5 separate regions of the Homo sapiens genome follow, and all the other regions are linked to region 5. Evidence: promoter capture Hi-C in human tissues and cell types (Jung and others, 2019). All regions are on one chromosome and are shown on one strand. The core of a region is centred on a gene start or on the middle of the fragment in contact, and the rest is flanking DNA. Distances in the headings are between cores, read along the strand shown. Region 1 holds the start of GYS1 (glycogen synthase 1). Region 2 holds the start of DHDH (dihydrodiol dehydrogenase). Region 3 holds the start of TULP2 (TUB like protein 2). Region 4 holds the start of PLA2G4C (phospholipase A2 group IVC). Region 5 holds the start of RPL18 (ribosomal protein L18).

The links. Contacts are between HindIII fragments. The study calls those that stand out against the background at their distance.
Region 1: a contact is called between the fragment with the promoter of GYS1 here and the fragment with the promoter of RPL18 in region 5, in 1 of the 25 tissues and cell types used here (spleen).
Region 2: the fragment with the promoter of DHDH here is called in contact with the fragment with the promoter of RPL18 in region 5 in 2 of the 25 tissues and cell types used here (pancreas and spleen).
Region 3: the fragment with the promoter of TULP2 here is called in contact with the fragment with the promoter of RPL18 in region 5 in 1 of the 25 tissues and cell types used here (psoas muscle).
Region 4: the fragment with the promoter of PLA2G4C here is called in contact with the fragment with the promoter of RPL18 in region 5 in 1 of the 25 tissues and cell types used here (dorsolateral prefrontal cortex).

The regions. Positions count from the first base shown.
Region 1 is chr19:48,991,067-48,995,676 of GRCh38, forward strand. GYS1 (glycogen synthase 1) reads right to left here and starts at 2,243. Exons shown (of 16, transcript NM_002103.5): 1 at 1,929-2,243; 2 at 236-417. The coding sequence starts at 2,046. RUVBL2 (RuvB like AAA ATPase 2) reads left to right here and starts at 2,821. Exons shown (of 15, transcript NM_006666.3): 1 at 2,821-2,857. The coding sequence starts at 2,846. RefSeq lists enhancers at 1,800-1,939, 2,630-2,719 and a silencer at 2,150-2,509. The HindIII fragment of the contact is 7,369 bases long and covers 1,367-4,610 here.
Region 2 is chr19:48,929,917-48,934,948 of GRCh38, forward strand. DHDH (dihydrodiol dehydrogenase) reads left to right here and starts at 3,783. Exons shown (of 7, transcript NM_014475.4): 1 at 3,783-3,895. The coding sequence starts at 3,806. RefSeq lists an enhancer at 3,356-3,857. The HindIII fragment of the contact is 30,682 bases long and covers 1-5,032 here.
Region 3 is chr19:48,895,030-48,900,011 of GRCh38, forward strand. TULP2 (TUB like protein 2) reads right to left here and starts at 3,715. Exons shown (of 13, transcript NM_003323.3): 1 at 3,561-3,715; 2 at 2,808-2,840; 3 at 2,316-2,367; 4 at 1,401-1,527; 5 at 337-474; 6 at 1-133. The coding sequence starts at 2,839. RefSeq lists enhancers at 1-662, 3,110-3,925, a silencer at 1,089-1,228 and a cis regulatory region at 3,460-4,459. The HindIII fragment of the contact is 17,343 bases long and covers 1-4,982 here.
Region 4 is chr19:48,108,834-48,113,808 of GRCh38, forward strand. PLA2G4C (phospholipase A2 group IVC) reads right to left here and starts at 1,984. Exons shown (of 17, transcript NM_003706.3): 1 at 1,654-1,984. RefSeq lists an enhancer at 1,800-1,959. The HindIII fragment of the contact is 42,556 bases long and covers 1-4,975 here.
Region 5 is chr19:48,617,928-48,622,499 of GRCh38, forward strand. RPL18 (ribosomal protein L18) reads right to left here and starts at 1,251. Exons shown (of 7, transcript NM_000979.4): 1 at 1,214-1,251. The coding sequence starts at 1,216. It overlaps SPHK2 (sphingosine kinase 2), which reads left to right and starts at 1,579. Exons shown (of 7, transcript NM_020126.5): 1 at 1,579-1,616; 2 at 2,475-2,626. The coding sequence starts at 2,588. RefSeq lists enhancers at 1-722, 993-1,672, 1,833-1,922. The HindIII fragment of the contact is 9,176 bases long and covers 1-4,572 here.

The DNA.
Region 1 (4,610 bases), core at 993-3,492, 370 kb after region 5:
CGTCTCAGTCTGTCTCATACTTGCCATCTGTCTGTCCATTCGCCCATGTCTGGGATCCACCCACCCACTTCCAGGCCCTGCATCTGTCTGGGTGTCCTATCACGCCTCCTTCCTGTGTCCAAGCCTGCCTCGCTCTCTGGCTGGGGCTGTCCACCCTGCACCCTCTCCGTCTGTGGCTCCCACCCCGATGGCAGGCTGTCCACCCGCTTCTGCCCTGGGCTGGGCCACGTCCCACCTTGCAGCCCTTGCTGTTCATGGAATCCAGTGTCCTCTTCAGGGCCGGGGTGGGGGCCTCCAGCAGTTCCACCTGGGTCCTCACGCCCTGCTCCGTGTACGGCCCCACCAGGAAGTAGTTGTCGCCCCATTCGTCCCCTGTCACCTTCGCCTTCGTCTGCAGCACCGTGTAGATGCCACCCACTGTGGGCCCAAGCGTGTGAGGGCAGGCCCCGGCCGAGGTCCATAGTTCTGGGGCCTGGGGTGGGGTGGGCCGGGGATGTAGGGGGCACTCAGGCCCCAGACCTCTAGCTCAGGGGGAAGAGGGGACTGGGAGCCCATAGTTTGGAGTAGGGGTTGGAAGCTTGGATGAGGGGAACACGAGGGCTGGAGGGCAGTCCTCCTGGGTCTAAGGGAGAAGGGGGCTGGGGTCAGGACCCTGAAGGAGGAGGGGGCTCAGGCTAGACTTCTGGGTCTGAGAGAGAAGGGGCTGGGTGCCGGGACCCCTTGGTCTGAAGGAATTAGGCACTGGGGCTCTAAGGATGGCAGAGCTGAGGACTGACTACCCGGACTCAGGTTCCCGAGTTCCCAGCTCACAGGAGCTGGGTTTAAATCGCAGCCAGGCTCCAAAACCCAGTGAGGGAGACCCCCTCATGGCCAATCCAGCTTCTCACCATTGCCCAAGAGAAGCCTGCATGGTCATTCCCTGCCCCCAGGGACCTTGCTGACCTGCCTCCCAATTTCCTCTCCCTGACTAGGGACACCAGCATGCAGGGCTCTGCCTCTCCCATGACCCTATCCCAGACCCAGGAGCCCCAGCCCCCAGCCTCCTCCCATCCTGGAGCCCAGGCCCTGGCGATACCCGGCTGGGTGTTCACGGGCCCCCTCTCCTCCTGGGAGACACAGTCCCTTTCTCCTCCAAGACCCAGCAAAGCAACCCCCCAGACCCTGCTCTTTGAGGTGTGAGATTGGCTTGTTCCTGGGGATTTCAGCCCCAGCCTTCTCCAAGGCCAGAACCTCAGCTTTCTGAAGCCCAAGACACAGAAATGCAGGCTCCTAGCCCCTCCCATCCTAGGGCCCAGCCTCTGACTAACTTAGGACTTCCCAGCCTTCCCCTATTCCAGTACGCATGTGTCCCAGGCCATGGGCTCCTCTACTCCTAGGAACTAATAGCTCAGGCCCTCAGCTCCTTCAAAGCCCAGGCATTCATTACAGTCTCCAGCCCGTCCCATCTTTATTCTTAAGCAGCCAGATCCTCAGGTCCTCCCACCGCCGCTCAGGCCTCCTATCTCCCAGTCAGCTCTCTCTCAAATCTGGAGTTTTATCCCCTAGACCATGCTGTTAGGGTCATAGGTCTGAAACCCCGGCAGCTTCCCAGGTTTGCACGCAGAAATCCCATCCCCCCATCCCCTTCCCTGTTCAGGACCCAGGTATCTAGTCTCTCGGAAGCCTGCCTCCAGGACCTAGGAGTCTCATTTTAGCGCCCTCTTCCCTAGGACCCAGAACCCGGGCTTCCAGCCTCCTTTCATCTTAAGTCAAACGAACCATCCCTCTCCCACCCACCTCCGGCTTCCCAGCCCCTCCTCAAGGACACAGCCTCCTTGCCCAGGTCACAAGGGTTCCCCTAGTAGCCCCGTCCTCCTACAACTCAGAGTTCCGGGCCCCCATCCACTACTGTCCTTCTCGTCAAGGGCCCCGACGCCTGGCGTGCTCACCCTTGTTAGCCACCTCCCAGGCCACTTCGAAGAGCACTGCGTTCTCCAGGTCGAATTCATCCTCCCAGTCCTCCAGTCCTGGCAGTGAGGACATGGACAAAGTGCGGTTTAAAGGCATGGCTGGCGCAGGAAGGGGGGCTCCGGGGATCTCCAGGTAGGGACCCCGGAGGTGTCTAGGGAATGCACCAGGTAGGGTGCGGGGCCGAGTAGCTGGTGCCCGACGGGAAGCTTGCAAGACGCTCGGCTTCCTATTGCAAGACCGCACCCCTGCCCCGAAGCGTTGGGACCTAGGCAGAAGGAGGCCGCAGCGTCACTGAGCCCACTGGCGCCCCTGCAGTGAAACCTCGCAGCCGCCAGGAGGCGGTGGCCGCCCCCCCCAGCCAGCGCCATTGGCCCACGCCCGGGGGCGGGGATTTCCGCGTGTCCTCATTGGTGGAACGGGTTGGAGTCGCTGTGTCCCGGCCCCGCCTCGGCCGTGAGACCTCCAGGGGGCGGAGCTTGCCGCTGCGCTTTACGGAAACGAGTGGCCTTCAGCTCTGTCAATCTGGAGCTGGAGGCCTCAAAGTGGGGAGGAGGAGGAGGGTGGGATAAAGAGGAAAGGAGCGTGGAGGACGTGTGGTTACTCAAAGAACAGCTAAGAATTTTGCAATCGGCCTGAGCGGGGCGGTGGTGGGGCTGAGCAAAAGGAGGAGGAGCCAGGAGACATTGGGAATGGACCCAGGAGTTCCGGACGCCCGTCTTCCAGCGCAGCCTCGGTGGGAGGGCGGGGCATAAAGTCCCGCCACGCCCCCACAATATTTACATATTTATGAGGAACCATCGAGATCTTTGAAGAACCAGCTAGCCTAGAGGAGCCAGAACATCTCGCTCCTCGCGCGTTTCCGTTTCCGCTAGGACTCTGGCAGTTGGTGAGCATCATGGCAACCGTTGTAAGTGTGGGTGCATGGAGGGTGAGGAGCGAGCTAGCAGTCTCGAGTTTGAGAGAGGAGGATGCTGGAGGCCCTGACTCCTGGGTCTGAGGGAGGGGGGATCTGGGGGTTCAGACTCCTGGGTCTGAAAGAGGAGGAAGCTCGGCCACCCAGATCTGGGGGAGAAGGGGACATGGGGGCTGGACTTCTGGATCTGAGGCGGGGAGGGGGCTGGGATCCCAGAATCTCGGGTCTGGCCCCATCATGCTATAGGAACTCCAACTTTCAAAATCATCTTGGCGCAACGGCCGGTTCCGCAGTCCTTGGCGCCAGTGTGTGATGAGGAGGGTTGTAGGACCTTGCGCTTCGAGCCATTTGGGAGCCTTGGATTGTTAGTGGTGCCAATGGCACTTGAGTTCCAAGCTGGAAGCACAGGCAGGTACCTGTTCAGTGTGTCTGAGAGCGCGAGGGCGCCTAGTGAGCCTTTAGTGGGAAGAAATTGTCGAGGAACAAGAGAGTCTTAGTGGAGAGGACTGAAGGATTAGGGACCCAGAAATCGGGATCTTGTCATGCTACCGTTTTGGCCATTTTCATATTTCCAGTATTTCACACGGGCTACGTCTCAGTGTAAATGCTCAATAAATTATCACTTGAATATTTGAATGAATGAATACATGTGAATGAAGGAGAGGCCAGGAAACTTGGCCTGGCACCTGCTCAATTACCTGAATAAAGAAGCGATTTTGGCCTGGCGTGGTGGCTCATGCCTGTAATCCCAGCACTTTGGGAGGCCGAGGCGGGCGGATCACTTCAGGTCAGGAGTTCGTGGCCAACATTGCGAAACCCCGTCTCTATTAAAAATACAAAAATTAGCCAGGTGTGGTGGTGCAGGCCTGTAATCCCAGCTACTCAGAAGGCTGAGGCAGGAGAATCGCTTGAACCTGGGAGGCAGAAGTTGCAGTGAGCCAAGATCGCGCCACTGCATTCCAGCCTGGGCGACAAAGCGAGACTCTGTCTCCAAAAAAAAAAAGGTAATGTGACCTGAACTTAGGGACTGGGCTGGGCTTACAGGTGCCTCAATTTCCATGATGAGCCCAGTCAAGATGGAGGAAGGGAGGGGGAGAAAGTTGTTGGTAGCTGGGGATGAGATTTGAGTCTGTTGCTGTCACCAGGGCAAGGAGGAGGAGGAGGTGGATAGGGAAGTAGAAGAGGAAGGCTATGACCAGAACTACCGTGGAGAAAGTATTGGAAGTATGAGGGGACGGTGTGTGCTGAGTTTTGAAATGACCTTGGTTTTCATGGGAACAGCGGGCAGCAAGGTTTTGGAGAGACTTATGATGAAAGAGAAAGTCTTTATAGGAGACAGTCCTTGGTAAGGGGCCTGTTTATGTTGAGAGAGCTACATTTGGGATTCCTGGATTCATGTCTTTTTTGTGGGGTGGGGATGCCTAGTCTTCTGCTTGTAGTCTGGGGGTAATGTTCTATGCTCCTGGGTTCCAGCTTCCTATAGGAGACGGTAGGTGGGAAGGTTCACACAGTGACAGGGAAAGCTTGTGACCATTGATGGCCAGAAAGTCTAAACGATTGGCTCCAGAGGGAGGAGGCTTCCTCTGGGCTGGATAACTGCATGTCCTCTCTAGGGGAAGAAGAGAAGAAAGACCTGTGGGCTGGGCACAGTGGCTCACGCCTGTAATCCCACACTTTGGGAGTCCGAGGTAGAAGGATTGCTTGAGCCCAGGAATTTAAGACTAGCCCTGGCAACATAGCGAAACCC
Region 2 (5,032 bases), core at 2,533-5,032, 310 kb after region 5:
TTGCCCAGGCTGGAGTACAGAGGTGCCATCATAGCTTACTGCAGCCTCAACCTTCCCAGCTCAAGCGATCCTCCCGCTTCAGCCTCCCTAGTAGCTGGGAATACAGATGCACACCACCACACCTGGCTAATTTTTTGCAGGTTGGTCTCGAACTCTTGGGCTCAAGAGATCTGCCCGCCACAGTCTCCCAAAGTGCTGGGATTACAGGCATGTGCCACCGTGCCCGGCATATTTTCTTTTCAGTGTTTACCTTTTTGCCTCCTCTGAGGTGCTGGAGTGCAGCAATAAGAAAGTAATAATTTTAGGCCGGGCGCAGTGGCTCACGCCTGTAATCCCAGCACTTTGGGAGGCCGAGGAGGGCGGATCACGAGGTCAGGAGATCAAGACCATCCTGGCTAACACAGTGAAACCCTGTCTCTACTAAAAATACAAAAAATTAGCCAGGCGTGGTGGTGGGCGCCTGTAGTCCCAGTTACTTGGGAGGCTGAGGCAGGAGAATGGCGTGAACCCGGGAGGCAGAGCTTGCAGTGAGCTGAGATCGAACCACTGCACTCCAGCCTGGGTGACAGAGCAAACCTTCATCTCAAAAAAAAAATATATATATATATTATATATATATATTTTTTTTTTTAGACCGGGTCTTCCTCTGTTGCCCAGGCTGGGGTGCAGTGGTGTGATCTCGGCTCACTGTAACCTCTGCCTCCCAGGCTCACGCCACTCTCCTGCCTCAGCCTCCAGACTACAGGTGCCCGCCACCACGCCTGGCTAATTTTTTGTATTTTTAGTAGAGATGGGGTTTCACCGTGTTAGCCAGGATGGTCTTGATCTCCTGACCTGGTGATCCACCCATCTTGGCCTCCCAAAGTGCTGGGATTACAGGTGTGAGCCACTGTGCCTGGCCGCTGAGTAGTATTTTGTTGAATCCACTGGCAGCTTAAAGGACATTTGGGCTTGAGCTATGTACAGCTGCTAACACCTGTGCACTGGTTTGTGTGCAAACATGTTATTTTTTCTTTCTAGGACAAATACCTGGGAGTATCAAAATTATTTTTTGATATTTATTATTAAATGATTTTTTCTTTTTCTTCATAGTAATGATATTGTGTCCTATGTGGATTTCCCTCCCCCTAAACCTTTTTTTTTTTTTTTTTTTTTTTTTGAGACAGAGTCTCTCTCTGTCACCCGGGCTGGAGAGCAGTGGTGCGATCTTGGCTCACTGCAACCTCCTCCTCCCAGGTTCAAGCAATTTACCTGCCTCAGCCTCCCAAGAAGCTGGGATTGCAGGCGTCCGCCACCATGCTTGGCTAATTATTTTGTATTTTTAGTAGAGATGGGGGTTTCACCATGTTTGCCAGGCTGGTTTCGAACTCCTGACCTTAAGTGATCCGCCCACCACGGCCTCCCAAAGTGCTAGGATTACAGGCATGAGCCACTATGCCCTGCCCCCTCCCCCCACTTTTTTTTTTTGGTAGAGATGGGGTCTTGCTTTGTTGCCCAGGCTGGTCTCAAAGTCCTGGCTTCAAGCATTCCTCCCATTTGGGCCTCCCACAGTACTGGGATTACAGGCGTGAACCACCGTGCCTGGTCCCATTTGTGTTTCTATTCAGCAGTTTGTGTAAACTTGAAGTCTGTGAATCCATGTGTGACACTCAGGTCTTAATTATTGTCTACCAAGTAAGAGAAAGTGACAATATCCTGCCCTGTGTGAAGCTGGCCAGCCAGTTAGGAATTATCATGTCCCAACCAGCCTGGGAAACTTGGCAAGACCCTGCCTTGATAAAAAGTTTAAAAATCGACTGGACACAGTGTCTCATACCTATAATCCCAGCACTTTGGGAGGCTGAGGCAGGAGGATTGCTTGAGCCCAGGAATTGGAGACCAGCCTGGACAACAAAGTGAGACCTTTTCTGTACAAAAAATTGCTGGGCATGGTGGCTCATGCAGGTAATCTCAGCACTTTGGGAGGCCAAGGCAGGCGGATCACCTGAGGTCAGGAATTCGAGGCCAGCCTGGCCAACACAGTGAAACCCCATCTCTAGTAAAAATACAAAAATTAGTCGGGCGTGGTAGTGGGCGCCTGTCATCCCAGCTACTCGGGAGGCTGAGGTAGGAGAATTGCTTGAAACTGGGAGGTGGAGGTTGCAGTGAGCCAAGATTATGCCACTGCATGATCACCCCAGCCTGGATGACAGAGCGAGACTTCGTCTCAAAAACAAAAAACAAACAACAACAGCAACAAAAATTAGCAGGCTGGGTGCAGTGGCTCATGCTTGTAATCCCAGCACTTTGGGAGGCCAAGGCAGGCAAATCGCAAGGTCAGGAGATCGAGACCATCCTGGCCAACATGGTGAAACCCTGTCTCCACTAAAAATAAAAAAAATTAGCTGGGCATGGTGGAGGGCGCCTGTGGTCCCAGCTACTCAGGAGGCTGAGGCAGGAGAATCACTTGAACCAGGGAGGCGGAGGTTGCAGTGAGCTGAGATCACACCACTGCACTCCAGCCTGGGGATAGAGTGAGACTCCGTCTCAAACAAACAAACAAACAAATAGCGGTAAGTGGGGCACATGCCTATACTCCCAGCTACTCAGGAGGCTGAGGCGGGAAGATAGCTTGAGCCCAGGAGTACAAGGCTGCTGTGAGCTATTATCACGCCACTGCAGTCCAGCTAGGTAACAGAGTGAGACCCTATCTCTAAAATAATTAATAAATAAAACAAAATAATTAGCCAGGTGTAGTAGCCAGTAGCTACTTTGGGTCCCAGCTACTGTAGTCCCAGGTACTAGGGTGGCTAAGGCAGGAGCTAATTCCTTGAGCTAAGGAATTTGAGGCTGCAGTGAGCTATGATTGTGCCACTGCACTCCTTCCTGGGCGACAGAGCGAGACCCTATATCAATAATAATTATAATAATACAGTATATTTTACATAATAGACCATAGAGCTCAATGAATCCTCCTCACAACCCTATGTAGGTAGATGTTATCATGATCTCTGCTTTCCAGAATAGAAAAGTGAGGACCAGAGAGGGCGACCTCTTGTCCAAAAGCAATACAGCCAAGAAGGGGCAAGGAGGGTTTTGAAACCAGTCGGCCAGGCTCTGGGGCTCCTAACAAGCAAAGCAGCCTGGTTTCTAAAACTATAGCTTCTGGAAGCAGCCAATTCACAGGTCTTTACCTCCTGACTGTGAGACCTCCAAAAAATGACCAGGGATCTTGGAGTCTGTTTCCCCCTTTGTGAACTGGGGACAATAGAAGCTACTTCCCAGGTCTGCGGGGAGAAATTAGGAACGAAGAAGGTAAAGCGCAGAGCTGAGGAGCTGGTCTACAGGTGCTCTATACATATTAGTAATAATTATTAAGTTTGCTGTTACAATCCTCTCTCTCTCTGTGAACAACCCCTAATGATGCGTGGCTTTGAGAGCAAAAAAGTCAGGGCAAAGTTTTGCCACAAAGTCCAGAGGGCAAGACATTAAATCTAACTCTCAAGGATTGGTGTTGGCAAGAAAGCAAACCTCTCCTCCCCACGCTGTCCTTACCCCGCGTATCCGACGAGCCTAAAGTCATAGGTAAGAGATCTGTAGAAGCGACGTCAAGGTGTGGTTCCCTCTGTAAGGCGGAGCTAAACGGTGCATTCGCCCAGCGGGGAAGCTAGAACTAAATGACCGCTCTGCCGACTGGAGCCAACGAGAATCGGCGTAGGCGCAATACGGGCGGAGGATGGGGACCCGCCCCCGGGGTGGGCGGGGCGTCAGGTACTTAATTCGCGCCTGGAGGGACCGAAGGTGCCGAGGGCTCCGCATCGCAACCATGGCGCTGCGCTGGGGCATCGTGTCTGTCGGCCTCATCTCCAGCGACTTCACAGCCGTGCTGCAGACGCTGCCTCGCTCTGAGCACCAGGTCTGCCCGCCCTCCGGATTCTGGGGAAGAGGAGGCGGGGGGCGGGACTCCAGAGTCTAAAGGAGGAGGGAGTTTAGGGTTCAGGACTAGTGAGTGGGTCGTCATTGCAGTGAAACGTCTGTTTCCTTGCTACCTCCTTCTCCATCTCTGTTCTGCAAACCTGTGGGGAAAAGAAAGATCAGATTGTTACTGTGTCTACGTAGAAAATGAAGACATAAGAAACTCCATTTTGAACTGTACTAAGAAAAATTGTTTCTGCTTTGAGATGCTATTAACCTGTAACTTTAGCCCCAACCGTGTGCTCACAGAAACATGTCCTGTATTGAATCAAAGTTTAATGGATTTAGGGCTTTGCAGGATGTGCCTTGTTAACAATATGTTTGCAGGCAGTATGCTTGGTAAAAGTCATCGCCATTCTCCATTCTCTATTAACCAGGGGCACATTGCACTGCGGAAAGCCGCAGGGACCTCTGCCCAAGAAAGCCTGGGTATTGTCCAGGGTTTCCCCCCACTGAGAAAGCCTGAGATATGGCCTCGTGGGAAAGGAAGACCTTACATCCCCTAGCCCGACACCAGTAAAGGGTCTGTGCTGAGGAGGAGTAGTGAAAGAGGGAGGCCTCTCTGCAGTTGAGATAAGAGGAAGGCTTCTGTCTCCTGCTCTCCCTGGGAATGGACTGTCTCAGTGTAAAGCGGACCATTCCCATTCCTTCTATTCTGAGATAGGAGAAAACCTACCTGTGGCTGGAGGCGAGATATGCTGGCAGTGATACTGCTCTGTTACTCTTTGCTACACTGAGATGTTTGTGTAAAGTGAAACATAAATCTAGCCTACGTGCACATCCGGTCACAGCACCTTTCCTTGAACTTATTCATGATACAGATTCCTTTTCTACATAGACACAGTAACAATCTGATCTCTCTTTCTTTTCCCCACACAAACCTGAGTGTCTTGAGGTTTGGAAAGGCCTTGATGTAAGCTACTATGAAGATAATTTCAATATTGGGGGATTTAATAACGGCTTTCCCCCAGATCTCTCTTTCCCAGGGCCCAAATGTCCAGCCCCCGTCATCTCTTCCCCCAGGACCACGTCTCCCCTTCCCCTGGCCAGAGCCTCCTCCTTTGCCTCCCTTCCACCC
Region 3 (4,982 bases), core at 2,465-4,964, 280 kb after region 5:
CGGATTCTCGGAGACTGTTTAAAAGGTGGGGGAGAGACGGAACCATTCTCCACGGAGACTTCCTCCAATTCTGCATCGGAATTGTCTGGGAGCCAGGATAAGAAAGGGGACTGGAGACCGAGATTCCTGAACACTGAGGAAGGAAGGAGGGGAGAGTTGGATTTCTGGATGCTGCAGGAGGAGGCGGCTCAGGACCTGAACTCCTTGGTGTGAGGAAGGAGTGGGTGCGGTCCTGAGCTCCTGAGTATTTTGGACAGATGGATTGAGGCACCAGACTCCTGGGTTTTAGTGGGGACGGAGTTCTGGGGTCTAGGAGGTCGGTGGACTCGCAAATACCTGCTTCTGTCCGCGGTGTCGGGAGGCCGCGCTCGCCCCTGCCGTCTCCACCACAGCTCACGGTGCCCAGGGCACTGTGGATGCCAGAGGGCAGATGTGCCTCTGACACTTTCTTCCGGAGGAAAGGGTTCCCAAGGCCTGGGAGAAGGTTCAGCGAGCCCATGAAAACGATCTACAAATTCCGGTCCTCAACCAAAATCCACCCCGTCACTGGGCTCCCAAATATCACCCCCGCCAGGCGCCGTGGCTCACGCCTGTAATCCCAGCACTTTGGGAGGCCGAGGCAGGCGGATCACCTGAGGTCGGGAGTTCGAGACCAGCCTGACCAACATGGAGAAACACCGTCTCTACTAAAAACACAAAATTAGCCGGGCTTGGTGGCGCATGCCTGTAATCACAGCTACTCGGGAGGCTGAGGCAGGAGAATCGCTTGAACCCGGGAGACGGAGGTTGCGGTGAGCCGATATCCTGCCATTGTACTCCAGCTTTGGCAACAAGAGCTAAACTCCGTCTCAAAAAAGAAAAAAAAATCACCCTGTTTCGCGGACCGCCCAAACCTTGAGACCCAGGTCCCAAACTGCATCCTAAGCCTCAAACAAGCACAGCCCTGCCGCTGGATTGTTGCGGGCTCCGCACGTAAAGAATCTCGCGCCAGGCTCTCGTAATGAGACCGCGCCCCGCCCCGGACCCCTAGACCCCGTCTCCGCAATCCCGGGTTTGGGGTGGGGGTCCCGGCTTTCCCAGGCTCCACCACCGAGCTCTGCCAAGCCCAATCATCACATTCTCTTGCCCCTTTCCCCTGCTAGTTGTACCATGCCCCGCCCCTGCGCTCTGTAGCCCTGCCCCGAACCCCTCCCTCACAGGTCCTGCCGCGGGGGGCCCCCACAAGCCTCTCCCCTGGGCGCCCACAGGCCCTGTTCTAAAGCTCTCCTGGGCCAAGGCCCGCCCCCATCCACTGCCAAGTCCCCACCCTAAGGCTCCACCCCTTCATCCACTAGGCCCCGCCCACAGACTCCCACAGGCCCCTCCCCTCCAGGCGAACGCCCCCAGGGGTCTTTGGTCACCTCTGTCACCTAAAAGGCGCTCCTCCCGCAGACAAGAGCGCCAAAGCCACGGGGAAGCGTCAGGATTGGCCTGAACCATGAGGAGCTCCTGGCGCTTCTGTCGCTGCTTCTTTTCAAACAGCCGCCGCTGGGGAGATGGGAGAGGTGGGTGTCCGGGACAGGAACCAGATGGGAAGACAGAAGTGAGGTGGGGCCTGGGGCAAGGGCTCGCATCGGCGCGAGAGTTCGTGAACCCCTTCCTCCACTGGGGCCCACACGTCCAGGCCCTCAGTTCTTCAGCAGCTCCTCCCTTATTCCACCGTTGGACTCAGATCCAAGAGTCCTGACACCCTGTCCTCTCATCCCCCAGGACCCAGGAGTCCTGCCTTCTAGAAGCCTTGTTCCTTAGAAATTCATCACAAGGGTTTGTTTGCTTCTTTAGAACCCCCAATTCCTATTTTCTTTTCTTTTTCCTTTCTTACTTTTTTTTTTTCTTTTTGAGACAGAGTCTGGCTCTATCGCCCAGGCTGGAGTGCAGTACCACGATCTCCGCTCACTGCAGCCTCCGCCTCCCGGATTCAAACGATTCTCCTGCCTCAGCCTCCCGAGTAGCTGGGATTACAGGCGCCTGCCACCACACCTGGCTAATTTTTTGTGTGTTAGTAGAGACGGGGTTTCGCCGTGTTGGCCAGGCTTGTCTTGAACTCCTGACCTCAAGTGATCCGCCCACCTCAGCATCCCAAAGTGCTGTGATTACAGCCGTGAGCTGCCCTGCCCGGCCCCAAATTCCTATTTTCTCATTTCTCAGTGGGAAAACTCAAGGATGAGAGACAGCCAACACGGGCTGGGAGTCCTAGAGCAAGACCTGGTGGAGAGGCCCCTGGGGAGGCACAGAAGGCGGAAGAGTTGGAGTGGTGAGATTCCTGGGCACAATACCTGCTGTTCCAGCTTCTGCAGCCTCATAGCAGCGAGCTCATGCCCCAGGATGCTGAGAGAGACACAGGCCCATGGTGACAGTGCACAGGGAACCTCGGTTGCCCAAGAGAGTCCCTCCTTCCCCCATCCTGCCCCTATCTCAGCTTGGGTTCTGGGCACCTGTGAGGTCACAGGAGGTGCAGAACCTGAGCCTGCTCCACCAGTTATAGGGCCCTTTCTCCTGGCACTGGCCCACAGAAGCCGGGACCCAGAGATCCCAGGTCCCTCCTGTCTCAGGATTCAGGAGTCTGGGGCCCCCAACCCCTTCTCTTTCAGACCCAGAAGTCTGCACCCTAGCCCCATCCCTTCAGGACACAGGAGTCCAGGTCCCCAGCCCCTTCCTGCAAGGCCGATGGTGCTGAACCTGCAAACATGGTTATGAAGCCAGAGCCGAGTGCACGGGGTCCCCAGCCCTTTCCACCTCCACCCCTACCCATCTGTTTCCCTACTCACTCTCTCATCAATGTGTCATTATCCTGAGACATTCTGCAGAAGCAAGAATGAGGAGTCAGGATCAGAACCAACATCCCAATGGATCCTGCCCACCAGCACCTAATCTTTAGCCTTATTTATTTATTTATTTATTTATTTATTTATGTATTTAGAGACAGCTGAGCCTCGCTCTGTCGCCCAGGCTGCAGTGCAGTGGCGCCATCTCGGCCACTGCAACCTCCACCTCCTGGGTTCAAGCGATTCTCCTGCCTCAGCCTCCCGAGTAGCTGGGACTACAGGCGTCCGCTATTCTGCCTAATTTTTTTGTATTTTAGTAGATACCGGTTTTCACTATGTTGGCCAGGCTGGTGCCGGACTCCTGACCTCAGGTGATCTGCCCGCCTTGGCCTTCCAAAGTGCTAGGATTACAGGCATGAGCCACAGTGCCCGGCCTGATCCTTACCTTTAAATTTGCTTCCGGACCCAGGCAGCCCGAATCCCAGCACCCACTCCTGTCGGGATCTAGTAGCCTGTTTCCAGCTTCCCACGGGGGTCCGCAAGTCCGCTTCTCTCTCCCCCAAATATCTAATTCTCCAGCACCCAGGCATCAGAACTCAGGACTGTGCACTTCAAACACCCAGCCCCCAGCGGCCTAGAACTCCACTGCCCACCTGCCTGGGATCCGGGAGACTTGTTCTCCTCACCAGGTGCCTGGAGAGGCTGCTCACATTGATGCCTCGGTACCTTGCCTCTCTGGCCAATCTCTAAACATACCTGATCCTCTCTTTGGAAGCTGGGGACCTAATCTCGGGATATCTGCGAAATAGGGAGGAGAAGAAAGACGGCTCAGAGGGAGGGAGGATTCCCTCTGGGACCTGAACTGGTCCACTCCCTTCTGACCCTCCACTCTCCACTTCCAACAAAGTAACGAACTCGGTCACTGATGCAGCCAGGCAACCCTGCTCCGGGGGTTCTGAACACGAATGCCGTGTGGGGGTTCCTTAAAGAGACCAGAGACCGGCCCGGCGCGGTGGCTCACGCCTGTAATCCCAGCACTTTGGGAGGCCGAGGCGGGCGGATCACGGGGTCAGGAGATCTAGACCATCCTGGCTAACATGGTGAATCCCCGTCTCTACTAAAAAAAAATATATATATATACACAAAAAAATTAGCCGGGCGTTGTGGCGGGCGGGCGCCTGTAGTCCCAGCTACTCGGGAGGCTGAGGCAGGAGAATGGCGTGAACCCGGGAGGCGGAGCTCGCAGTGAGCTGAGATCGCGCCACTGCACTCCAGCCTGTGTGACAGAGGTAGACACCGTCTCAAAAAAAAAAAAAAAAAGAGAGAGAGAGAGCGGGAGACCAGAGACCTCGCGGCCTCACTGTACACATCTCGCTTACAAGAAACTTAAAAGAGGCGGGGCGCAGTGGCTCACGCCTGTAATCCCAGCACTTTGGGAGGCGGAGACGGGGAGGCAAGATTGCTTGAGTCCAGGAGATCCAGATCCAGACCAGCAACACAGAGATTTTTTTTTTTTTTTGAGACGTAGTCTCACTCTGTCGCCCAGGCTGGAGTGCAGTGGCGCGATCTCGGCTCACTGCAACCTCCGCCTCCCGGGTTTAAGAGATTGTCCTGCCTCAGCTTCCTGAGTAGCTGGGATTACAGGCATGCGCAACCACGCCTGGCTAATTTGTATTTTTAGTGGAGGCGAGGTTTCTCCATGTTGGCCAGGCTGGTCTCAAACCCTTGACCTCAGGTGATCTGCCTGCCTCAGCCTCCCAAAGTGCTGGGATTACAGGAGTGAACCCCCAAGCCCGGCTTGACATCCGTCTCTTTAAAAAACAACAACAACAAAGTGTGAGAAGTGTGAAAGACAGAACGTTAAAAAAAAAAAAAGGCTAAAAAAGAATTAAAGATTTAAATATTTGTATTAAAAATTTAAAAAATATACATTAGCCAGGCATGGTAGTGTGGCCTGTGGTCCCATCTACTTGGGAGGCTGACGCGGGAGGATTGCTTGGGCCTGGGAGGTAGAGGCTGCAGTGAGAAGTGATTGCGCCACTGCACTCCAACCTGGGTGACAGAGCAAACCCTGTCTCGAATAATAAGAAGAAGAAGAAAGAAACTCATAAGAAAGGCTATGCAATTGCTACCGCGCTATAACTTCCAGGCACTTCGTGGGGCGAAAATAAATGGGAA
Region 4 (4,975 bases), core at 734-3,233, 510 kb before region 5:
GAGGAGAATCACTTGAACTCAGGAGGTGGAGGTGCCAGTGAGCAGAGATCATGCCATTGCACTCCAGTCTGGGCAACAAGAGTGAAACTCTGTCTCAAAACTAAATAAATAAATAAAAAGTAAATGAATGTGGCTTCAATCTCTCAACAAGGACTGGGGGTCAGTTTTCTTTGTCTCAAAGTTTAACTATGAATTAAATTCCTCTCATGGTAATTTTGGCCTCTGCACTAGAATAAGAAAAAAAAATCTAGCCTGTGAGGTTAGAAACAAGATGGTCAGTCATGTTAGCTTTCTCTCATTACTTACATTTCTGCGAAGGCAGTTTCAAGACCCCCCTTATGAAATTAATCAGCTTCCCCCCACCACCTCCAAATTCATATGTTGGACTTGTAACCCCCAGAACCTCAGAATGTGACTGTATTTGGACATAGGATTCTTTTTCGTTGTTTGCTTTTTGAGACAGGGTCTTGCTTTGTCACCCAGGCTGGAGTGCAGTGGTGTGATCGTGGCTCACTGCAGCCTCAGCCTCCTGGGCTCAAGCGAGCCTCTCACCTCAGCCTCCCGAGTAGCTGGAAGTGCAGGTACATGCTACCATCTCCAGCTAAATTTTTTATGTTTTGTAGAGATCAGGTCTTGTTATGTCACCCAGGCTGGTCTTGAACTCCTAGGCTCAAGAGAGCTTTCCACCTTGGCTTCCCAAAACGCTGGGATTATAGGCATGAGTCATCGCACTCGGCCAGACATAGGCTCTTAAAGGGGTGACTAAGTTAAAGTGGGGTCCTGAGGGTGGCCTGGAATTTGGTTTGATTGGTTTATTTTATTTTATTTTTTTTTGAGATGGAGTCTCGCTTTGTGCCCTAGGCTGGAGTGCAGTGGCGCAGTCTCGGCTCACTGCAAGCTCCGCCTTCCGGGCTCACGCCATTCTCCTGCCTCAGCCTCCGGAGTAGCTGGGACTACAGGCGCCCGCCACCACGCCCAGCTAATTTTTTGTATTTTTAGTTGAGACGGGGTTTCACTGTGTTAGCCAGGATGATCTCGATCTCCTGACCTCAGGATCCGCCCGCCTCGTCTTCCCAAAGGGCTGGGATTACAGGCGTGAGCCACCGCGCCCAGCCTGATTGGTTTTATAAGGAGAGATTAGGGCCTCTGCAAGAGGCTTCAGGAGAAACCAACCCTGCCAACACCTTGATCTTGGACTTCTAGCTTCCAGAAGTGTTAGAAAATAAATTCCTAGCCGGGCGCGGTGGCTCACGCCTGTAATCCCAGCACTTTGGAAGGCCGAGTGGGGTGGATCACGAGTTCAGGAGTTTGAGACCAGCCTGGCCAACATGGTGAAACCCCATCTCTACTAAAAATACAAAAATTAGCCGGGTGTGGTGGTGTGCGCCTGTAATCCCAGCTACTCGGGAGGTTGAGGCAGGAGAATCGCTTGAACCCCGGAGGCGGAGCTTGCCGTGAGCCGAGATCGCGTCACTGCACTCCAGCCTAGGCGACAGAGCGAGATGCTGTCTCAAAAAAAAATAAATAAATAAATAAAATAAAATAAAATAAAAAAGAAAAAGAAATCCTGTTATTTAATTGCACCCAATCCCTGGTACTTGGTTATGGCCGCCCCAGCGGGATGAAACAGCCCTCCCTGCCCCCACGGCTTGCCTGAGCCTGGGTCTGGGGCGTGTGCGCATGCGCGGTGGAGCTTGTGCTCCGGAATCCGGTGCGGAGGCTTGGGCTCCCTGCGCTTAGCGGTGTAGTCGCTGGACAGCTCCTTCAGCCGGAATCTCCGCGGGTGAAGACTGCGGGGATCCTCGGTGCCAAAGCTTCTGTGGTCCTCCTGCTTTCCTTTTCCCCCTGTGGGAGGAGGTCGCGGGCTGGAGGTGTTTCCTCCTGGTCCTGAGCAGGGCCAACCTGGAGGTAAAATGGCCCCTGCGCCTTTAAACAGCCCTCCTCGGCTTGTAGGCCCTGCTTGGTTGCTCCAGCTTTTTCAGCTGTTCCAGAGCTCACCCGGAGCTATTTTCATCCGTGGGATCACGTGGAGGGCTGGGACTTTCCAGGCTTCCTTAGTGATGTCACCCTTCTGTCATTAGGCACCCGAGACCAGTATTCAAAAAAAGAATGTTGTCGTTATATAACTATATTGGAGATAAGTATTCCTCAAAACAGATTAGCTAATCCTCCTATGCATCTGGCTGTCTAATAACCATCATATATAATATCATACTCAAATACCCAGAAAAAGAAATATTGAGGCCAGGCGTGGTGGCTTACGCCTGTAATCCTAGCACTTTGGGAGGCTGAGGCAGGCGGATCATGTGAAGTCAGGAGTTCGAGACCAGCCTGGCCAACATGGTGAAACACCTTCTCTACTAAAAATACAAAAATTAGCTCGGTATGGTGGCGTGTGCCTGTAATCCCAGCTACTACTCGGGAGGCTGAGGCAGGTGCTTCATCCTGGGAGGTGGAGGTTGCAGTGAGCCAGATCCTTAGGGCCAACTCTGGTTCATTTAATGTCCATTTTTAGAAAACCTGTGAGCTCCATTCACAGTGAAGGTTTGAAGCCCAGAAGTGGCCTCCCAACAGGGTACCACATTTCCCAGCACCTTTGCAGCTAGGTGTGGTCATGTGAGCGAGTTATGTGGTCATGTGACCGAGTTCCAGTCAGTGCAATCGGGCATCTGTGGGGAGCACCGCTTCCAAGAGTGGCTCCTAGAAACCTCCCATACTACCCTCCTGCCTACTCTTCCTGAAGCCCAGCACTAAGCGTCATCCCAACTCGATGGGTTTTGAATTTTTTTTTTTTTTTTTTGAGATGGAGTCTTACTCTTTGTCGCCCAGGCTGGTGTGCAGTGGTGCAATCTCGGCTCACTGCAACCTCCGTCTCCTGGGTTCAAGCGATTCTCCTACCTCAGCCTCCCGAGTAGCTGGGAACATAGGCATCTGCCACCACGCCCGGCTAATTATTTTTGTATTTTTAGTAGAGACAGGGTTTCACCATGTTGGCCAGGCTGGCTCGAACTGCTGAACTCAAGTGATCCACCTGCCTCGGCTTCCCAAAGTGCTGGGATTACAGTTGCGAGCCACCGCACCCAGCTTGAATTCTTATTTTTTAAAAATAGATATGAGGCCATAATCCTAGCACTTTGGGAGGCCAAGGCAGGAGTATCACCAATTTTAGAACAGGATTTCACCAGGGGGAAGATGGTCTCCCCTGCTCCCCCTAACGCCAGGCTCACCTCTTCAGTGCCCGCAACTCCAACCATCGCAGGATCTTTTCACTCCTAGACCTGACCATGCCACTGCCCCGCCTGCGGGATAAGGTTCTACACCTCGCAGGAGCTCATGAGGCTCTCCACAGTATAGTTAGTAGTTATAGATGCAGGGTCAAGGAGCTGACAGCATGGACCAAACCCTGGCCCACCACTTCCTAGATAGTGGACCTAGGGAAGGTAACTTACATCCCTGTGCCCCTCAGTGTCCTCACCTGTTAAATGGGGAGAATAAAAGTACCTACCTGGTGGAGCCATCATGAGGGTCACTGAGGAGTGAGGATGACCCTGACTAGCTTCAGCAGAGGGACATGGCGGCCGTGTGTGGCAGATGTGTTCCTGGGGCCCTGCACTGGTGCAGGGAGGAAGAGCCAAGCCCAAAGGAACCATGGTCTCCACACAAAGCCAGTAATGTGGGGATCCCCTGACATACAACATTTACTTTTTTTTTTTGCCTTAAACATTTTATTTGAAATTGAAACACAAATGCACACTAATTTGCCAGTTCTTTAAGGCAGAGCTGTATCAGGAACTCTTAGCTATGAGAAACAAGTCTTTTTTTTTTTTTTTTTTTTTTTTGAGACGGAGTTTTGCTCTTGTTGCCCAGGCTGGAGTGCAATGGCTCGATCTCGGCTCACTGCAACCTCCTCCTCCCGGGTTCAAGCGATTCTCCTGCCTCAACCTCCTGAGTAGCTGGGAGTAACAGGCATGTGCCACTACGCCCGGCTAATTTTGTATTTTTAGTGGAGACGGGGTTTCTCCATGTTGGTCAGGCTGGTCTTGAACTCCCGACCTCAGGTGATCTGCCCGCCTCGGCCTCCCGAAGTGCTGGGATGACAGGCATGAGCCACTGTGCCCGGCTGAAAGCCATGTTTTAGAGTGGCATAATCGCCCTGGGGCTTATTCTTCCCCTACTCCCATGAACAAAAGCCCACAGTTAGGCAGCTGCTGCCCTAGGTTCGCCGGTTTAGGGTCGTCAGGAGAGTTTGTTACTCTTTTTCCTCATCATTACAAGGTGGTGACTTGGCTCCAGCCATCATCTCTAGTCAAGGCAGGAGGAGGGGAGGAGCTGCCACAACCAGGGCTGTCCTTTTTGGTCAGGAAAGATGTTTCTCCAGAAGTCCCCAGCAGCCCCTGTGCTTATGTCCCCTGGGTCTGCCCACACAGGGCTACAGGGCCACTGCTAGCCCCAAGGAGACTCGGAAGGCAATGTTGTCTTCTTGGGCTACAACAAATAGAAACAGAATGCCCAAGAGATTGTGTGCACAAGAGACCATGATGGAGACACAGGAAGAGAGACAGGGAGGCTGAGTCACAGTGACAGACAGCAAAGTAAGCCTGGCACAGACTTGCACGGCAGAGAGCAAAGCCTCGCAGATAGAGAAGGAAGGGGAGAGAGGGCGGGTGGGAGACAAGGGCAGAGGAACCTGATGAGAGAGAAGGGAAGGAGGGAGGGCAGATGTGAGAGGCAGAAACAGAGTGTGAGGGGCAGGGGACAGCTGGGAGCCCTGTGTCCCCCCTGCGGGAGTATCAGGACACCCTGACACTCTCATGCCCGGAAGCTCCTGTTCCACGCTGGGCCCCGGGGTTAGAGGCCTCCTGCTCTGGAAGACCCGAGCCTGGGCCCCGCTCCGCGTGCAGCCGTTTTCCCCAAGCCAGCCCCGTGGTGCCCAGGGCTGGGTGGGTGTTCCAGGCATCCTGCTTGCCTTGTCTGA
Region 5 (4,572 bases), core at 1-2,500:
AATTATTACTTATTTCTGAAACTGAGAGCTGGGACACAAGCCCAGGTCTGAACACACCAGCTCAAATCCCAGGCCCACCACCAGGAGACCTGTGGGCTGCCACTGATCCCTCTGTAAAAAGGGGCTGTTTACAAAGCCTTCAGCCCATGGCACACAGAACCCTGAAACATCGTAACACAGCAATCATATTAACTTAATACAAAAAGGTCAATTCTTTACAACTTGTATTTTGCAACAATGTTATCAAAACTGGTTCCCATACCCGGAGGGATAACCAAAAATATCAAACCAATGGCAGTAATGATGAAAACGAATCCTTATTCAGAACCTAGCAATACTACTAGAACCACCTCTCCTACAGCATCAGTCAATCCAACAACCCTTACCAAATAGTGTCTTTTTAAAACATCGTTTTTAAAGTGGAGACAGGGTCTCACAATATTGGCCAGGCTGGTCTTGATCTCCTGGGCAAGGAATCCTCCCGCCTCGGCCTCCCAAAGTGCTAGGATAACAAGCGTGAGCCGCCTCGCCAGGCTCCTACCGCCCTGCTGCCTTTCTGAGCAACTTAAGTTTTTCAGACTGTGTTGACAATTACAAGAACTATTTAATAGCTCCACTTATGCAGCACTTACTGTGTGCAAAACCCCGTGATGAGCATCTCCTGTGAATTATTTCTTCCCAAATTCACAAACTTGTCAGATGAGATTACTGTGTACCCAACGAACAGCCAGACACTGGGGCAAAGGCTCAAAAACCATCACAAGGTGGGAAGGGGCCTGAGACTCAGAGACCTGCCTGGTCCCCAAATCCAGTTATTCGGCTCTCGATCCTCTCACCCGCCGCGGCCCCCATCGAACCCGACTTTTCATACTAGAAAGTGACAGGTCCAGATAAAGGCAGCAAAGCCAAATAACTAAGAGTGGCTGCGGGTCCAGCCACCTGGGTCGGAATCCTGGCTCTGCCACTTCCTGGCTTTGTAAACCCAGTCATATCAGCCTCCGAGTACCTCCACTTGGTCATCTACTAAGTGGGGGCGGTAGGCTATGACTGACCCATCCCTGCTTTCCTGGCCCCCAGAGTAGGTCCCCAGTATCGGGAATTGCTCCCTCCGGGCAGCCGCAGACCCCCTGCCGCCCTCCAGCGTGCCCCTAGCCCAAAACCACGGCGGATGGCAGCGGATTATCCAGCCCCGAACGCCGCAAAGCGAGCTCACCATGATGGCGCCTCCTGCTCGGCCAGGTCCGGAAAGAGAGAACGGGCTGGGGTGGGCGGGGAAAGCCTCAAGCGAGTGGCGCCGCCGTGACGTCACATGGGTGCGACGCGGCGCTCTACCACGATCCGGACTTCTCTGTGGTGAGTTGGACGACTGACTAGCCGGGCGATAACGGCAGAGAGCATAGAGCGCAGGAACAAGCGCAACGTCCAAGAGGGAAGGGCCAGCACGTCGGGGGCCTCTCTGGCCCTACCCAGGCCGTGTTCTCGATAGCTTTCCGGAAGAAAGGGATCTGGGAGCGAGATGCGTGTAGCTAGCACGATGCGTCGCGCGGTGACGCTCTGGCCCGACGCCGACGGCCTCTCAGTGGCTCCCGGAGGACCCGGCGGGCCCAGTGTTGGAGGTGAGGAGGCGGGGCTGGCAGGGCTAGTCGGGGCATCTGGAAATTTCCGACCCCACGCTTCGGGCGTTTCCTTATCAGGTTCACCGCTCCCTGATCTCGCGCTGCACTTCGTAGGCGCAGCCGCTGCTTGGGAAGTCCTACTTAAGGTCTAACCCGAGATGATCTTGCTGCACCTCAATCTATAGCATCCTGTATTCCCATCCTTTGAGTTCCGCTTCTCCTTCTCCCCCGGCCCCTAGATGGCCCTTCCCTGACCTAGAAAGAGGGAGACAGAGTTTCATAGGGGAGGCAAAATGGAGACTCCGTGGCTTGGGGGTGGGGGGAATGGAGGCCCAAAGGGTAGGAAGGAGACCTAGAAAGAGGGGTGAGATGGAGACCCAGGGAGAAGTAGTGGCAAAGAAAGATGGTGAGATGGGGCCTTGCAAGGCTATAACCAAATTCAAATCCTGGCTCTGCTAGTTACTAATGGGGTGATTGGGCAAGTCATTTAACCTCTCTGTGATCTTGGGAAAATCACTTAACTTCTTTGGGCCTTACTCTCCTTATGGACAAAAAGGGGATGACAACAGGCCTGGCACACAGGGGTGTTTTTCAGGATTATGAAAGTTAATAAAACTGCTGAGGTCAATATTTTGCACATAATAAGTGCTCAATAAAAATTAGCCTTCACTCCTATTATAGCATACATATTGTGTGCAACCAGATGGACTGGCTGGGGCAGTGATTAAAATGACTTATCTACTCTTCCCCCCACCCGCCAGGGAGGCCCCTGCCTCTTGGTTCTCAGGCACATTGAGCCTGGAAGGGCCTCCTGCAGTTGGCTGTCAATGCTGCTCCTCACTTACCTCTCCTCCACAGAGCTGAAGGTCAGGCCAGGACAGTGAGACCTGACTCCTTGCTCCTACCAGCCTACTATGGCTTAAGACCCAGGGCCAGGGTCCCGTTGATGTAACAGAGCAGAGGACCAGCAGATGAATGGACACCTTGAAGCAGAGGAGCAGCAGGACCAGGTAAGGGACCATCTAAAAGCCAAGATCCTCATACTGTGGAAAGACAAAATCTGAAGCTTTTCTTTAAAAAAAAAAAAAAAAAATTGGAGGCCAGGCGTGGTAGCTCAAGCTTGTAATCCCAGCACTCTGGGAGGCCAAGGCCTGCGGATCACCTGAGGCCAGGAGTTCGAGATCAGCCTGGCCAACATGGTGAAACCCCATCTCTACTAAAAATACAAAAATTAGCCAGGCATGGTGATGCGCACCTGTAATCCCAGCTACTCGGGAGACTGAGGCAGGAGAATCATTTGAACCCGGGAGGCAGAGGTTGCAGTGAGCCGAGATCGCGCTGCACTCCAGCCTGGGTGACAGAGTGAGACTCCGTCTCAAAAAAAAAAAAGAAAAAACAGGGTCTCACTCTTGCCCAGGCTGGAAAGCAGTGGCACAATCACAGCCTACTGCAGCTGCAACCTCCTGGGCTAAAGTGATCTTCCCACCTCAGCTTCCCAAGTAGCCTCCACCATGGCTGGCTAATTTTTTTATTTTTATTTATTTATTTATTTTGAGGTGGAGTTTCGCTCTTGTTGCCCAGGCTGGAGTGCAATGGCACGATCTTGGCTCACTGCAACCTCCGCCTCCCGGGTTCAAGCAGTTCTCCTGCCTCAACCTCCCAAGTAGCTGGGATTACAGGCATGCGCCACCACACCCAGCTACTTTTGTATTTTTCATAGAGATGAGGTTTCTCCATGTTGGTCAGGCTGGTCTCAAACTCCCGACCTCAGGTGATACGCCGGCCTCGGCCTCCCAAAGTGCTGGGATTACAGGCATGAGCCACTGCACCCGGCCAATTTTTTTATTTTTTCTAGAGACTAGGTCTCCCTCTGTTGCCCAGGCTGGTCTTGAACTCCTGAGCTCAAGGGATTCTCCCACCTCAGTCTCTCAAAGTGTTGAGCTTACAGGCATGAGCCACCGCGCCCAGCCTGGGAGCCCTTCCATAAGTGATTTCAGACCTTCTCTCCAGGCAGGTGTTCCAGTGGGATAATTTAGGAATCAGAGAAACTGAGGGGTTGAGGAGGATACTTATTATTTATTATTTAGGTGCACTGGCCCAGTCAGATTAACATCGAAAAAGACTGAGCACCGAACAAAGAGTCAAGTTACATTTTAAGTATTTCGTGGGGTAGGGGGAGATCTGTGCAGGGGGAAGCATATTATAGCAGCGAGAAACAAAGACAGTTATTCAATTGAGACATGCATTACATTATTTCTTACTTTTCAAGGAAAAACATGTTTTAGGACTTGAGTTTATCCTGTCTAGTGACCTTGCAGCTGCACAGTTAGAGAAACAGGGTCTTCACGATGCCTGGGAAAGGGAGTTAGATAAGGCTCACTAGCCACAAACAGAAAAACAGGCAGTTAATTTTTAAAGGACTCAATCTCGGGCCGGGCGCAGTGGCTCACGCCTGTAATCCCAGCACTTTGGGAGGCCGAGATGGGCGGATCACGAGGTCAGGAGATCGAGACCATCCTGGCTAACACGGTGAAACCCCGTCTCTACTAAAAATACAAAAAAAATTAGCCGGGCATGGTGGCGCGCGCCTGTAGTCCCAGCTACACACGGGAGGCTGAGGCAGGAGAATGGCGTGAACCCGGGAGGCGGAGCTTGCAGTGAGTCGAGATCGCGCCACTGCACTCCAGCCTGGGCGACAGAGCGAAACTCCGTCTCAAAAAAAAAAAAAATAAAAAAAAATAAAGGACTCAATCTCTTTCTCTTCCTCAGGGGGAATTGGGTTTTTTACATACAACTGAGTTTTTGCTTACACATTCTTTAATTTCTTTTAATTCCTGTTTCAGTGTGAATAGCTTTCTCCCTACTTCCCAGACAGGACAGCTGAGGCCAAGAATTCAGGGGCTTCCCAGCAGTCACACAGCAAGTGTGTGTGAGCTGCAGGGTCCTTTCTCCTTTT